Regions from separate parts of the Homo sapiens genome. Here regions 1 and 3 are each linked to region 2. Evidence: promoter capture Hi-C in 16 types of primary human blood cells and fetal thymus (Javierre and others, 2016). All regions are on one chromosome and are shown on one strand. Each heading gives the region's core, a stretch centred on a gene start or on the middle of the fragment in contact. The rest is flanking DNA. Distances are from core to core; before and after follow the strand shown. Region 1 has its middle 30 kb from the start of RANBP6. Region 2 holds the start of UHRF2 (ubiquitin like with PHD and ring finger domains 2). Region 3 holds the start of LOC124902117 (a long non-coding RNA gene).

The links. Contacts are between HindIII fragments. The CHiCAGO score rates a contact against its expected background, and 5 or more counts as called.
Region 1: a fragment that was not itself captured here is called in contact with the fragment with the promoter of UHRF2 in region 2 in 1 of 17 cell types (monocytes); the score reaches 5.0 in monocytes.
Region 3: a fragment that was not itself captured here is called in contact with the fragment with the promoter of UHRF2 in region 2 in 1 of 17 cell types (non-activated CD4 T cells); the score reaches 5.2 in non-activated CD4 T cells.

The regions. Positions count from the first base shown.
Region 1 is chr9:6,044,425-6,047,159 of GRCh38, reverse strand. No RefSeq gene overlaps it. Among named protein-coding and RNA genes, the nearest start is that of RANBP6, 30 kb to the right of the region's middle. The HindIII fragment of the contact is 2,474 bases long and covers 117-2,590 here.
Region 2 is chr9:6,411,797-6,414,524 of GRCh38, reverse strand. UHRF2 (ubiquitin like with PHD and ring finger domains 2) reads right to left here and starts at 1,326. Exons shown (of 16, transcript NM_152896.3): 1 at 882-1,326. The coding sequence starts at 1,034. RefSeq lists silencers at 509-938, 1,009-1,188, 1,469-1,608. The HindIII fragment of the contact is 4,095 bases long and covers 1-2,728 here.
Region 3 is chr9:6,715,568-6,718,267 of GRCh38, reverse strand. LOC124902117 (a long non-coding RNA gene) reads right to left here and starts at 2,086. Exons shown (of 4, transcript XR_007061412.1): 1 at 1,652-2,086; 2 at 1-395. RefSeq lists an enhancer at 1,756-1,975. The HindIII fragment of the contact is 2,276 bases long and covers 220-2,495 here.

The DNA.
Region 1 (2,735 bases), core at 104-2,603, 370 kb after region 2:
ATATTCATTGGTCCAGCCATTATGACATCTCTATCACATTTTCTTTATTTTTAATGATACATCATTTTCTCCATTAAAAAAAAACAGGGGTAAAGATCGAGTAAATGCCACAAGCTTAGAATATTGCACTGAATTGTTATGTAAATCAAAGCAACATCTTTAAAACAAATCAGAGCTCTTAAGAAACTTTATATGAAAACAAAAAAAAAACCAATGAACATAAAGCCATATTTTTATACAAAGTATATATAGTGTGTACATATTGTGTATCCTCTTTTTTCCATATAAACATTTCAACATGTCTTAAAGTATCGTGGGTGTTTTTTCCAAGATGGCGGATTGGAGGCATCATTAGCATGCCTCTCCCAGTTGGAAAGACAAAATTGTGTGTAGAGATTCACACTGTGAACTTTATTTCAAGAAGCAACACAGGAACTTAACAGGAAAACTGATGGAAACCAGACCCTTTGAAAGAAGCGGCAGGCTGCAGCCTACACCATGAGCCAGGCGTAAACCTGAAAATCCCCAGAGTGTGAGCAGGGAGAAGCTGCCTCTGGGATATACATTTCCACCGGAGAACCTGGCAATCCAGGCCACAAGGGAAGGTTTTAACCCTACCCAGTGCTAGAGCTAATGCAGTGAACGGTGGGGAGCATATGAGAAGGAGTAGCATTGGGACATGCTGTGTGTGCACTCCCAGTCTCCAGTGGGGACAGAGGGAAGCCATTCTTGATCCTGCCTCACAGGGTACTTCACTTTAGAAGTCAGCCAGCTAATTCAGGCAGCAGTCACAGGACGAGAGAAGCTCCCAATGGAGATTAAGCAGGAGCTGCGTGCCCCTGCTTCTTGGGCAGACCAGGAGGAGTGTGGCCTGAAAGCCTCAATATCTGCCTCCATGGAGAAGGCTTATGGTCTGCGGCAGTTTTGAGTTCTGATCATAGGCCTTAAACCCAGTGAGCTGCTGCTAGTGGAACATTCCAGGTGCGAGACCTGCCTTGCCAAGTGCATGGAAACTAGGTGCGGCTTACTGCCACCTGCTGCTCCCCACTCCCCTTGTAGACTCTTCTATTCAGCAGAAGCAGCTGTACTCCCTCATGGAACAGTGCTCCAGCAGCCAGAGAACTGCTCTGATCCCCACTGGGGCCACTGCTTGCGTCTGCACACCAAGAACCAGCCTCTACCTGGCTTTGCCCCTCCACCAGAGCTAATCACCTAACACAAAGGACAGAAACTTTGGGGAGCCCTATGGCCCTGCTCATTGCCTGAGATACCAGAGTACTTCCCCTGGGTAACAGAAGGCAAGCACAAACGAAGGTCACATTTCAGGAAATACGTGAATGAAGGAAGAGAGGTAGCTTGGCACATGAGCACATTTTTTAGGAAGTGATGTGATGAAACGATCAAAGATGGAGGCCAGCTGATACAGCCACTACAGCATCTTCAGGCAGAAGAACACAGTGCTCAGGAAGGCGAAAACTTGTGCATGACCTCAGCTATCACAATTGCTTTCATTACCCTACTAACCAGGAGGTCCTAAGTCTGTCCGTGTGACCAGTTCATTACTACTACAGCTGGCATTTGAGAAAGCCAACACACCAAGGCTATTTATAACCAAAGAATCTCACAGAGTCTACATCACTCCCCAGCCACCTCTATCTGATCTGGTGCTGGTACCCACTGCTGGGAGACTTGAGGACAGGTCACATCATTGGATCCCTTGCAGACATTCCTTAGCACCGGCCTGGAGGATGGCAGCCCAACTGGACAGCTAGACACAGAGGAGCAGCAGCATTCACAGTAGTCTGGCCTTCAGGGACTCCTACTCCTGGGGAAAGGGGGGTATACCTTATCAAGGGAGTACCCCCATGGGACAAAAGAATCCAGGTGGCAAACCTTGAGTCCCAGGACTTTCTTCTTGTGGGAAGTTTATTTCAGCAGAGGTACAGATGCAGTGCTGAGCCCAGTGGGGGAAAGTCTATGACTCTACCCAACAGGCAGCCCTGGTGCTCATGAAGGGTCTTGGAGAAGGGGATTTCTTCTTCCCCTCACCCACCACTGCAGACACAGCTGGGGCTTCTCCCATAGGAGCTCAGCATGGGTGCAAACAGTAGACAGCCTTTTGGGAACACTTTAGGGTGACTGCATCCCCACAGAAGGAGTACCCTCCAGGTTCAGACTTGCATGAGGAATAGAGATCACCATCCCTCTCTACATGGAATATCAACATTCCTGCAAATGAAAAGAGGTGCCTGTCTGATCTGAATAGCCAGAACACTGGGTCAGGAGTTTGACTGGAAAGTGGATAGCTTTCCTGCTGGACTGGCAGGGAAGCTGAGGTGGCTCCCACTTTTCCTCCTGATAAGACCTCAGTGTGTTTCACTGAGAACTCCCCCAGCCATTTCTGTCAAGGCTGGGACCTCTGCCCACCATTGGGTATTGCGTTTACCCAACTGCTTTAGCCACAGCCAATGTTTAACCATGGACACCTGCTCTACTGGCCTGAAGCCTGAACTGTTCAACCCAGTAAATGAAATACTGGGGGAAAAATAAATAAATAAAAAGTGCACACCACTGGGGAGTGAGATAAGCTTCAAGAGGCCTCTGCCATTCCCACAGGAGACAGTGAATCTGCTCACACACCATGCATATTGCTACTACACCCAGCATCTGAGAAAGCCATCATAAAAAGACTCTCTATAACTAAGAAACTCATAAAGAATGTTTAACCCTGAAAG
Region 2 (2,728 bases), core at 77-2,576:
GAATAGGAAAAAAACTTAGACTGGCCAGACCATAAAAATACCAGAGATGCCCACAGACAGCCTTCAAGTATGCACCGCTGGCTATGCTGCAGTGCTATGCTTAAAGCGTGAACGACATGAGTATTAGAAGGCGAGAAGTAAGAAAAGCAAACAGTCTTACACTCCTTTTCACTTCGGGAATAAAACTCTTGGCTTATATAGGGCATTCGTAAACCCGGCCCCCGGTTAAACCGACAGTTTCTTCATGCCCAGGTCTCTAACCTCCCTCGAGACATTCCAAACCTAGGAAAGGCGGCGAGGGAGAGGGACCAGAAGTTCTGGAAACCCTTCGAATCTTCAGTTTGCGCGAATCCTACCACAGTCAGGAAGCAGAGTTAGGGTTCTTATTCTTGAGAGCTCAATGCCCGAGTTTCCCCTGTTTGAGAGCCGAAGACGCGGAAGAGCCGCGGAAGCCAGGCGAACGCTCAGCCGGGTTAGCCAGCTCTCCGGGTCTCCCGCGCGGTGGCATGGCCGCCAGAGCCCTCTGCCCTCCCCGCCCTCTGGGGGCCCCAGGCCCCGCCGAGCGCGGGAAGCGAGGGACCTGGGCACCCAGTGCCTACGGCCGCTGTCCTACCAAATACAAACGGCGAGATATTTGCGCTCCGGACGCCCTCACTTCTGACCCCGCGCGGCGCACCTCCAGTTGGGGCTGGCAGGGACCCACTCCCCACCATTCGGCGGGACTGGGCCCCGCACCCCGCGCCTCGCGGGGGCTGCCCACCCGCAGCGGAGCCAGGTGAGCCCTGCGCGCGCGGCGCACAGAGCCCTCGGACCGGTGCGTCCAGAGGAGCCCAGCTGTTCCGGCCCCCAGCCTCGCTAGGGGCGCGGCGGGCGCGCCTCACCTGCTTGCCCCGGTAGAAGAGGCGCTGGCATTCGGGCCGCACGTCGAACAGCGCCCACACCCGCTCGCGCAGCTCCTCAATCGTGGCTTTGCGAGACACGTCCTCAATGGTGCACGTCTTGGAGCCATCAATGGTGCGAACCTGTATCCACATCTTGGCGCCTAGAGAGGAACCGGTCCCCTTTGTCTCCCCCTGAGCTCTGGGCGCCGCGCCCCGCCCGGCCCGCGCCGCTTTCCCTGCGGCTCGGGCCCTCAGCGGCAGGCGGGCGAGCGCGCCCACCGGACCGACCGGACGCCGGGCCCGACAGGCGGCGACGACTCTCAGCGCGCGCGCCCGACTAGCCGACTTGAGGAGAGACGACCGGAACCACTCTGAGGCGCTGCCGCAGACACCGCCTCAAAGATAGGAAGAGGCCATGTCTGCGCCGCGCAGAGTGTTTACTTATAGAGCTGGAGCTCCCACATGGAGGTCACGGCGCCAAGCCGGATCTCGCGAGATCCACGCCGGGCTCCGCCTTAAAGAGGAAGCGGCCCGGGAGAGGGTTACAGACCCGAGGGAACGAAAATGGGCAGGCGCGGAGAGGGCGGGTCGGAGGGGCGGGGCTACCAAAAGCCGTTACTTGCCCCACCGCCTGCACCTGGCCACTGGGCACGCCCTCTAGCCTTTGGGTTTCGGAAGATTGCGCGGCTACCACATCGGTTGCCGTTTTGAGGCCTCGTTTCAGAGCTGAGGGGGCGGGTGCCTCCTCAGGCTTAGCGGATATGGTTCTTTGGTCTCAAAAACACACCAAAAATAAGAAACCCTGGCGTGCACTTGTATAATCCTGGAAAGGGGGCGCGGGTGGGTGCGGCCTAAACTTCCGAGAAAGAACTGAAGGAAATGTGTGCGCTCCACCGCGCTCAACAGGAAAGCTCCCGCCACGCGGCCTGGCGGGTCGGGTCGCCCGGGAAAGGCCCCGGGGGCCCTCCTGCTTCGCGAACACGTTTCCCGCCTGGCCGCAATGCTACTTTCGCGCGGAAACCCACTTCCGAGGGTTTCCCGTCGCCTGGCGGAGGCGGCAGCTCCAGGCCTATCCTCAGGCCGCGGGTCCCGCTGGGATCGCCCTCTCTGGCTTGCAGCGCTCCCAGCCGGCCCTCCGGCCTTGGAGAAGTCGGGGCAGCTGCCCGAAAGGCCGCTCTCTAACTCCGGACATTTCCGTTCGTAGACTTTCCGCGTTAGGGGTGCCTTTGGCCTAAGGGATTGCGGGTTTGCGGGAAACAGTTTTAAATAATGCAGAGCTACGCGCCTCCGAAGAAAGAACTCCAAAGACCCTACTAGGATTAAACCCTCAGAAGTGGGCCCAACGCAGCACTACCTAACAGGGCTTCCCCCACCCCCCACCCCGCCTTCTTAATCCTTCCCTGCTACAGCTGGGGAGTCGGGGTGGGGGTGAGTGGGTTTATTTTATTTTATTTATTATGTATGTATGTATGTATGTATGTATGTATTTAGAGACGGAATCTCTCTCTGTCGCCCAGGCTGGAGTGCAGTGGCGCGATCTCGGCTCACTGCAAGCTCCGCCTCCCGGGTTCACGCCATTCTCCTGCCTCAGCCTCCCTGGGGTAGCTGGGACTACAGGCGCCCGCCACCGCGCCCGGCTAATAGTCTCGATCTCCTGACCTCGTGATCCACCCGCCTCGGCCTTCCAAAGTGCTGGGATTACAGGCGTGAGCCACCGCGCCCGGCCAAGTGGGTTTATTTTAAATGAAAATATGTCTTCTCAAGAAGGGAGAGAGGATATAAACGTAAACAAAACAAGACAACTTGGACTTCACATTTGCCAAAATCGGTAACTTAAATATTCACAT
Region 3 (2,700 bases), core at 108-2,607, 300 kb before region 2:
GACCTCCCTGATGCCTTGCAGTTTTCTTTTTCTGTTCTTTTTTTTTTTTAAGGCTGGGGTAAATTTCAGGAAAGCCAAAGTTACAGGCAAAATTGTAAATCAATAGATGGAGGTTACACTTTGGTTCTGGCCTAAAAAGGCAGGATATCTTGAAATAAGGGCTTATAGTCATAGGTAGATTCAAAGATTTTTCTCATTTGCAATGGGTTAAGAGAAGCTTCGTTTAAATTTTGGGGACAGCAGAAGAGAATATTAGCTCAGGATTGTAGATGTGATCCCTCCAAGCCCCTGAGAAAGAAATTTTCAACAAAGAACAGTGGTCAGACTTCAGTCTTCAGTTCCCCCTTCTCTGAGGTCTAGGTGCCAGCAGATCCATTCAGTAGGGGTCCAGGTTTCTGAAAAACAATTGAAAGACCTATGTTAAAATGTTATCTTCCATTTCTACACAAAACCAAATACCCCATGATTTTAACTTCCTTGGCTATCATTTTAAGCTACTATTAACTTTTTATTAAGTTACTTATTTACTCTCAGGGCTAGCTATGTGCTGGTAATTTCTCTTGAAAGAACTCAAGACTTTTTTTTATTTCTATGCTTAGATACTCAGCAAGCCTTTAAGAGGGGGTCCCTGCCCTGTCTCATAGGGAGGAGCTTCTTTTTCGCCATTTTCTTTCTCTCTCTATTTTTTTTCAATATCGGCTGGGTCTCCCTATGTTGCCTAGGCTGGTCTTGGGCTCCTGGCCTCTAGCGACCCTCCCTCATCAGCCTCCCAAAGTGCTGGGATTACAGGTGTGAGCCACTGCGTCCCGTCCCTCTTTTCCTCCCCTCCCCTTCCCTCTCCTTTCCTTTCCCTTCTTTCTTTCTCTCTCTCTCTCTTTCTTTTTTTTTTTCTTTTCTGAGGTGCAGTTTCGCTCTTGTTGCCAAGGCTGGAGTGCAATGGCGCAGTCTCGGCTCACAGCAACTTCCGCCTCCCGGGTTGAAGCGATTCTCCTGCCTCAGCCTCCCGAGTAGCTGTGATTACAGGCATGCGCCACTATGCCCGGCTACTTTTGTATTTTTAGTGGAGACAGGGTTTCTCCCCATGTTGGTCAGTTTGGTCTCGAACTCCCGACCTCAGGTGATCCGCCTGCCTCAGCCTTCCAAAGTGCTGGGATTACAGGCATGAGCCACTGCGCCCGGCCTTATTTGCTATTTTCTATGCATGCGAGGTATGTAGAAACATGATAGAAAACTGCACCAGCACGGCTTTTGCTCCACCTCTACATACGACTAATAAAAGCACTGTTTTCACCTTTGTTCAGGGAGGCACCGCTTTAAGAATTACCCCCAGTGTTTCCTTACTTGTTGCAAGTAATAACATCCCCTTGTCAAATCCTTGGTTGTGGTCACGGTACTGTCACCCACCAAGTAAGCAAACTCACCCACTGGGTGGGGAATAGTCCTGCAAGAAAAAGTCTTGGCAGGAGGGACAAAGGTCAGCCAGAGGGTCACTCCACCATCCTCACAGTCTCAACAAGAATAGGGAACACAAGAGAAAACTGCCCTACTGGCCCTTGCTTTCCCTATCTGCGGCCTCCGGAATCCGGTGTGGAAGAAGTGTTCAGAAACTGTGCTGAGGCCCTTCCCTATTCCCCCACGCCATCCACCTTACCCCAGTGGCAACTTTCTGGCCGGACAGGTCAGGAGCCCAGCTAAAAAGGTGAGTGGGCCATCAGCCTATACAGGCAACGAGAGTGTCAACCGCCAGATTACTACTGCCAGTTACGAAAAAACGGTCCTCTGGAAGCGACGTTCTCTGTGCGCCACGTAACACGCTGCAGGAAAGGTACACTGGGGGGTATCACGTGACCGTCAACCGCTGGGGCGAGCAGGCGCCTAGAACCCAGCGATCGTCCATGGCCAGGGAGCTTCCAGTCACGTTCCTCTCTCTAATACCATCCTCCGCGCCTCACCTAAGCAAGCGCCACCTTCTCGCAGCTTCCTGCCCCCTAAAGCCTCGGAAGTCCTGGCCCTCCCAAGGTGGGGAAACGGAGGAACGGACGTGAAGGGAGCTGTGGGACGCGCGACCGTGGAGCTGGACTGCACCGAGTCCCAGCGCGCATCCGGGCTCCGGGAGTCCCACCGAGCCGTGACGTCAGAGGCGGGGCCGAGCACTGGGCGACCTCTGAGCTCGGGGCTTCGCGGGTCCGGCGGCCTCTTGTTTCGCCTTCTTGCTCTTGGGCCATCTTCCCTAAGTGGGAAGACCTAGGTTTTGCCAATCGGTTACCCGAGACCTTGGAGCAACGGCCGCGTTTGTTTGCAAAACTCTCCTCATTGTGTGGCACCCGCCCTGCGCAGGTGGAGCCTTTAAATGGGAACACCTGGACGAGGCTCTGATGGGAAACGGGGGCTGGAAGTTTGTCAGGAGCACGGAGACAGGTCGCCCTTCGGCCTGAATTTGGCGTAACTAGGACTGTGGGTACCTCCTGGCCCCAGACTGTTTACCAAAGCAAGCTTGCTGCAAGCTGTTGTAGATAAGCTTTAACCTCCGCTGGTCCTAGGTGCTCTGAAGACCTTCGGCTTTTTATTTTATTTTATTTTTTGAGATAGAATTTCGCTGTCGCCCAGGCTGGAGTGCAGTGGCGCCATCTCGGCTTACTGCAACCGCAGCCTCCTGGGTTCAAGTGATTCTCGTGCCTCAGCCTCCTGAGTAGCTGGGAT